2 separate regions of the Homo sapiens genome follow, and region 1 is linked to region 2. Evidence: promoter capture Hi-C in human tissues and cell types (Jung and others, 2019). All regions are on one chromosome and are shown on one strand. Each heading gives the region's core, a stretch centred on a gene start or on the middle of the fragment in contact. The rest is flanking DNA. Distances are from core to core; before and after follow the strand shown.

Region 1 (3,586 bases), core at 213-2,712, 200 kb after region 2:
TTCCATCTGGCAAACAGTGGCTGCTGAGTAGCCTTTTAGAGGGCAATGTTCTCTGTTACTCAGAAGGTCCTCTGCCAGTTACTAACATTAGAGTAGAATTGGGAGGAAAAAGAAATAGTTCTTGCATTCTTATCTGTCAAAACTGTGCAAATGAAAGCTTAACTAAGGGCTGTATATTTCAAGAAAAAAATGATCATGTTTCTTTGTGAAAGTAGAGAATGTTCCATGAACTTAATATGCAAACAAAGTCAGAAGAACGCTGTTCTGCCTGGCCTTCGTAGGTAATTGAGTTTAACATCTGACTTATACCAAAGGTAGGTGCTCTGTGGACTGGGCCCCATTCCAGAGGGAAAATTTTAAAGCTATTTTCCTGAGGGTTAGTGAGATGTATAATGGGAAAGGAGGAGGGGAGGAAGGACAGAGGAGACATTCCAGGGAAAGACCGGAGTGTGGAAAAGGGAGAGCTTGACTAAGAAAGGATTTACTTTCCTTAGAGAGAGGGTGGAGGCTCTCCTATCAGAAAAAGTGTTTTCATACAGCTATAAGGGTCGGAGAGAACCTTGAAGTCCTTACAGTAATCTGAGGGACAGGAAAGAATGGATTTCAGGCATTTCCAGAGGGCTGTGACTCTGGGATGACTCACATCTTCTCTTCTGTCTTTACTGCTTTGACAGAAGAATAAAATGAACAGATTAGCAATGGGCATTTGGAAAAACAACAGTGCACCATGATGCCTGTCTCTCTCACTAGATTGTGAACTCCTAAAGGTTTGACTATATTTTATTAATGAATATTTGTGACCTGTTACACATAGTGGGCATGAGGACTACGTTGTACAAAGTATTAGAGAAACATTGGGTCGCCTTCCTGCAGCCACAACAGCAAAGTTTCTTGTTTGTCCACAGCTGGGAGTAAAAGAGCAAGATGTCTCTAGTTATACAGTCATGTGATACAACATTGGACCACATATACTACGGTGGTCTCATAAGATGATAATGGAGCTGAAAAATTCCTTTCGCATAGTGATGTCTTGAGGATCCTGACCCTGTGAAGCCCTAGGCTAATGTGTGCATTTATGTCTTTGTTTTTAAGTTTAAAAAGTTTCAAAAGACAATAACCTTTTAGAATTATAAAAAAGCTTATAGAATAAGAATATAAAAAAGAAAATACAGTATTTTGTATAGCTATACAATGTGTTTGTGTTTTAAGCTAAGTGTTATTACAGAAGAGTCAAAACATTAAAACAATTTTAAAGTTTATAAAGTAAAAAAGTTATAGTAAGGTAAGGTTAATTTGTTATTGAAGAAAGAAATTTTTACACATGAATTTAGTGTAGCCTAAGTGTACAGTGTTTATAAAGTCTACAGTACATTCATTCACCACTCACTCACTGTCTCACCCATGGCAACTTCCAGTCCTGCAAGCTATATTCATGGTAAATGCCCTATATAGGTGTACCATTTTTTATCCTTTTTTTTTTCATTTTTTTTTTTTAAGACAGGGCCTTGCTCTGTCACCCAGGCTGGAGTGCAGTGGTGTGATCATAGCTCACTGCAGCCTCAAGCTCCTGGGCTCAAGCAGTCCTCTCACTTCAGCCTCCTGAGTAGCTGGGACTACAGGCACATGCCACCATACCTGGGCAATTGTTTTATTTTTGGTAGAGACGGGGTCTTCCTAACCTGTGTTGCCCAGGCTGGTCTGAAATTCCTGGGCTTAAGTAGTCCTCCCACCTTAGCCTCCCAAAGGGCTGGGATTACAGGCTTGAGCCATATTTACCATGGTGTTATAATTGCCTACAGTATTCAGTATAGTAATGTGCTGTGCAGGTTTGAGGCGTAGGAGCAATAAGCTATACCATGTAGCCTAGGTATGTAGTAGACTATACCATCTAGGTTTGTGTAAGTGCACTCCATAATGTTCACACAATGACAAAATTGCCTAATGACACATTTCTCAGAACATATCCCCATCGTTAAGTGATGCATGACTGTAATTAGAGCTAGGTAAAAATCCCTGTACCAATGGGAGGAGACATATAAAACTAAAATTAATGTTAGGATGGTGAGATTGTGTTTTTTTTCAACTCTATAAACTTTCTTGTTAGATTTGATTGTCTTTTCAGAAATAAAGAAAGCTTGGGCACAGTAACCTGTACATATCATTAAGGCAGTCCTGTCAACCTTCAGTGAGTGGGGCTGATAATCTCTCCACTGCTTTTCTTTATCATCGTAATAGTTCGTTTTCATGATGCTGGTAAAGATATACCTGAAACTGGGTGATTTATACAGGAAAGAGGTTTAATGGACTTATAGTTCCACATGGCTGGGGAGGCCTCACAATCATGGCAGAAGGCAAGGAGGAGCAAGTCACATCTTATGTTGATGGTGGCAGGCAAAAAGAGAGCTTGTGCAGGAAACTCTCATTTTTAAAACCATCAGATCTCGTGAGACTCATTCAGTATCATGAGAACAGTGCAGGAAAGACCTGCTTCCATGATTCAGTCACCTCCCATTGGGTTCCTTCCATCACGTGTGGAATTGTGGGAGTTACAATTCAAGATGAGATTTGGGTGGGGATACAGCCAACCCATATCATTCTGCCCCTGGCCCCTCCCAAATCTCATGTCCTCACATTTCAAACCAATCATGCCTTCCTAACAGTTCCCCAAAGTCTTAACTAATTTCAGCATTAACTCAGAAGTCCCCAGTTTAAATTCTCATCCAAAACAAGGCAAGTCCCTTCTGCCTATGAGCCTGTAAAGTCAAAAGCAAGTTACTTCCTAGATACAATGGGGTTACAGGCATTGGGTAAATACCGCCATTCCAAATGGGAGAAATTGGCCAAAACAAAGGGGTTATAGGCCCCATGCAAGTCCAAAATCCAGCAGGGCAGTCAAACTTAAAGCTCCAAAATTATCTCCTTTGACTCCATGTCTTGCATCTGGGTCATGCTGATGCAAGAGGTGGGTTCCCATGGTCTTGGGCAGCTCCACCCTTGTGGCTCTGCATGGTACAGCTTCCCACTTGGCTCCTTTCACAGGCTGGTGTTGAGTGTCTGTGGCTTTTCCAGGCACACGGTACAAGCTGTTGGTGGATCTACCACTCTGGGGTCTGGAGGATGGTGGCCCTCTTCTCACAGCTCCACTAGGCAGTGCCCCAGTAGGGACTCTATGTGGGGGATCTGACCCCACATTTCCTTTCTGCACTACCCTAGCAGAGGTTCTCCATGACAGCCCTGGCCCTGCAGCAAACTTCTGCCTGGATATCCAGGCATTTCCATACATCCTCTGAAATCTAGGCAGAGGTGCTCAAACCTCAATTCTTGACTTTTGTGTGCCTACAGGCTCAACACCATGTGGAAGCTGCCAAGGCTTGGGGCTTGCACCCTCTGAAGCCATGGCCCAAGCTGTATATTGGCCCCTTTTAGTCATGGCTAAAAGAAGCAGCTGGAACACAGGGCATCAAGTGCCCAGACTGCACACAGCATGGGGACCCTGGGCCTGGCCCCTGAAACCGTTTTTTCCTCCTAGGCCCCCAGGCCTGTGATGGGAGGGGCTGCCGTGAAGACTTCTGACATGCCCTGCAGA
Region 2 (3,081 bases), core at 298-2,797:
AGGTCATATACCAGTTAAACTCCACCATTTTGACTCTTAATGTGTATCCTTGAGCCCACTCACCTGTAAGAAGTACTTTTTAAGTGGTCCATTTTTCAGAAAACAGGCCCCGGCAAATCCAGGCAGCTCCCTTGCAGATGTGACAAGCCGCATGCTACAGACATCTGGGAAGAGTGATAAGACTCACAGAAGTCAGAGGGGAGGGAGAAAAAAAAATAGGGGGTGGGGTGGCTAATCCATAAAAGGAAAGAAAGTTTTGTCATTGGGAAATCAAAACTTAAAGTGGGGAAGGAGACAAGATGTAACCTTATAAGGGGATAATGAAACTTAGGCAACGTTGGGGAAGACTGTAACCCCATAGTACTCAGCCTATGAGGAACCAGGGTAGGGACTTGCACACTAGGTGATAAATTCCTTGTTGAAACTGCACTGGGTGTTCCTGCTCACCAGACACCCGATCTTGCAAGACCGTTATTAAAAAGTGTCTCTTTTGCTGTTCTTCATGCCTCTAAGTCCATTCTTTGGGTTTGGACAGGTGAGTGTGTTTCTCACATCACCTAACTCCTGAGCTCTTATGGGGAAGCTGCTGATAACCAGTTTCAGATGTTTTCTATCTATTCGGAGAGTGCCTTTTCCTGGCATTGGCTGCAACCAATTATTATTTTAGAGAGACAGTTAACAACTGCCTATCACCTGATGGTCGCCTGACATTCCTGGTGGGGGATAGGGGAGCCTGCTCTGCTCATGCCTGACTACCTACTGTAACAATGGTGAAATTTTGCTTGGGCCTTAGGTCAAATATTCATTTCAGAACTAGGCTATTCGAACTTCAGCACAGATGTTCAGAGCCCCTCTAAAACATTCACTTACTCCTTAGTGGACTCTTGGTAGAAACAGTAAAGAAATGAATATTTTCCTTCACACCTGCCTTCAGCACAAAAACTTCCCTGTTTTCACTGTGTGATTCATGTGAACATTGATATAATTGCTAGGTATGCCTGGCCCTTCCCTGCTGGTTTCTTTCGAACCCCTTGTCCCTCCACCTCCATCGCTTCCCCCCTTTTAAAGTTGTGTTTTGCATCTTGAATTTCTGAATCAAGAGGGATATAGTCTCCAAGTTTCTTCTGCTCCTAAGGTAGTTGGCACTTGTGAGGTCGCCTGAAACACTCCTTGCTGGTGACAATGACCATAAACCATGGGAGAAAGATATCCAATAACTAGAAAATTAAGCAAGGGGTTATTCATACAATCTTTTGTAGTTTTTAGAATGCAACCTCATATTTCCAGAAAATTCTTTCGTTTAAAAGCCAAAGACAGGCCAACAACCAATATGCACAACTTATTTTTAAACTGTAAAACAAATACCTTATTACAGAAAATTTACAAAACAAAGAAAAAACCGACACGCCACCCAGAGACTGAAATTATAGATAATTCCTGGCTGTTTTCCACTCTGGCTTCCTGCGCCTTTGCAACCAAGAATAACCTTCCCGCGCTGCCGGAACCGCGGCGCAGGAGGAGGCGCTGCCTCGCGTGTTGCGCCGTTGCTATGGTAACCGAGGAGGCCGGGGCCCGGGTGTGGTGAGTCTAGGGGTCCTGGCGCTGTGGGCCGGGGTGGGCACTTGGGGAGGAGTGCGATGGGGTAGACGGACATCTTCCCTCCAGGCTGCTCGGGCAGGGCTGGAGGGGAGTGGGCTTCAATCTCAGCGTCCTCACACTGCTTCTGTCCAGAGCTTTGCGCACCGGTCTCCTACCCCGCCGGCAGCCGCAAGGGATCGCAGAAGGTCCCTAGGGAATTCAGGCCGAAGAGCAAACTCTGGTGCCCTGAAGTGTCCGTTGCCCCCTCGCGGGACCTCCTGGATCACCTGGCGGCGCTGCCACTTTCTGTATCCTGTTCCTCAGGCCTTCTCTTTGTTTAACTCTGTGTGCCCAGGGTTGCCCTTGGGGTCCTTCTCCTTGAGCTGGGACTTGATTAAGCGACTACTTTTTTTTTTTTTTTGAAGAAAAAAATCAGTTGGCTTAAAAGGCACATTAGGATCTACTCCTCTATCACAACTTCAGGCTGCGTCGCCTGCCTCCTTGCCCTTTGTTTATGCTCTTCCCGTTACCTGGATTGTCCTTTTTTCCTCCTTTTAAGACTCCTACTCTTCACTATCGAGGTTTCACCTCTTCTGGGAAAACTTTCTGAGACCGCCACCCAGAATTGAATGTAGATGTCCACGGTTTTACTTTCAAAGCACTCTACCTACCTCCATTGAATCCCTGATCTCACTCTGTCATTGCTGATTTACTTGTGTCTTCCCTACCAAAATGTGAGAGCCTATGGGGTAGGTGCTATGACCTATGTGATTTTCTATTGTGGGTGGCTCGAAAGCAATCACATTCTATAGTTAAAAAGAAAAGTTTATAGATTTTTCTACACTTATTTAGTAAGGCAGACCAGGTGCTATCCTCATTTCAGAAAAGTCACATAATTAGTAACAGAATCAAGACTAAAGCAATGCCATTCTGCCTTCATAGTTCCAGCCTTCCCTCTTCCCTCCAATGCTCATATTCTCTGTGAAACTTCAGTTATATGTAGCAAGGTTACAATTTTGATGTATGTTATTACTTTTGTGGGCAAAGAAAATGTAATTTATTTTTGTATATGACTGATCTGGTTCCTTTCATGAGCATTTACTTATTGATTATTAGGAAAGAATCTAAATGTCCGATTGGTTTTAAAGTTTAGCTCAATCTAGAATTGATTTCTTTGGCTAGTGTTTAATTTCTCTTATATACAAATATTTAGGTTATCAGGTATCTTCTTGGATTCTTTCCTTGAGATGGTGCCCTGGCTATGTGGATGGCTCACGGAATCAGTTATGGGGACGGGTCAGGGTCCCTTTGCCTTCCCTTGGCTCTGGGGGGTGATGTTCCTGGTATACCGAGTGCTCCCTGCCCTATGGCTTTCTTGGTTTTAACCTTTGGCTTATATACCTTGTGAACAGGTATCTCCTGGTTTTGTCAGGACTCGGTTGAGCTCCCTGGCTCACTCAATTGCGCTGAGTTCCTGCTGTGACTTCCCTTCAGCCCTGACTG

What was found. Contacts are between HindIII fragments. The study calls those that stand out against the background at their distance.
Region 1: a contact is called between a fragment that was not itself captured here and the fragment with the promoter of ANKRD45 in region 2, in 1 of the 25 tissues and cell types used here (heart right ventricle).

What each region holds. Positions count from the first base shown.
Region 1 is chr1:173,470,743-173,474,328 of GRCh38, reverse strand. The region is part of intron 1 of LOC100506023 (a long non-coding RNA gene); the gene reads left to right. Among named protein-coding and RNA genes, the nearest start is that of PRDX6, 4.8 kb to the left of the region's middle. The HindIII fragment of the contact is 5,462 bases long and covers 1-3,586 here.
Region 2 is chr1:173,668,317-173,671,397 of GRCh38, reverse strand. It overlaps ANKRD45 (ankyrin repeat domain 45), which reads left to right and starts at 1,547. Exons shown (of 6, transcript NM_198493.3): 1 at 1,547-1,581. It overlaps LOC105371619 (a long non-coding RNA gene), which reads right to left. Exons shown (of 3, transcript XR_922291.4): 2 at 64-164. RefSeq lists a cis regulatory region at 1-502. The HindIII fragment of the contact is 9,646 bases long and covers 1-3,081 here.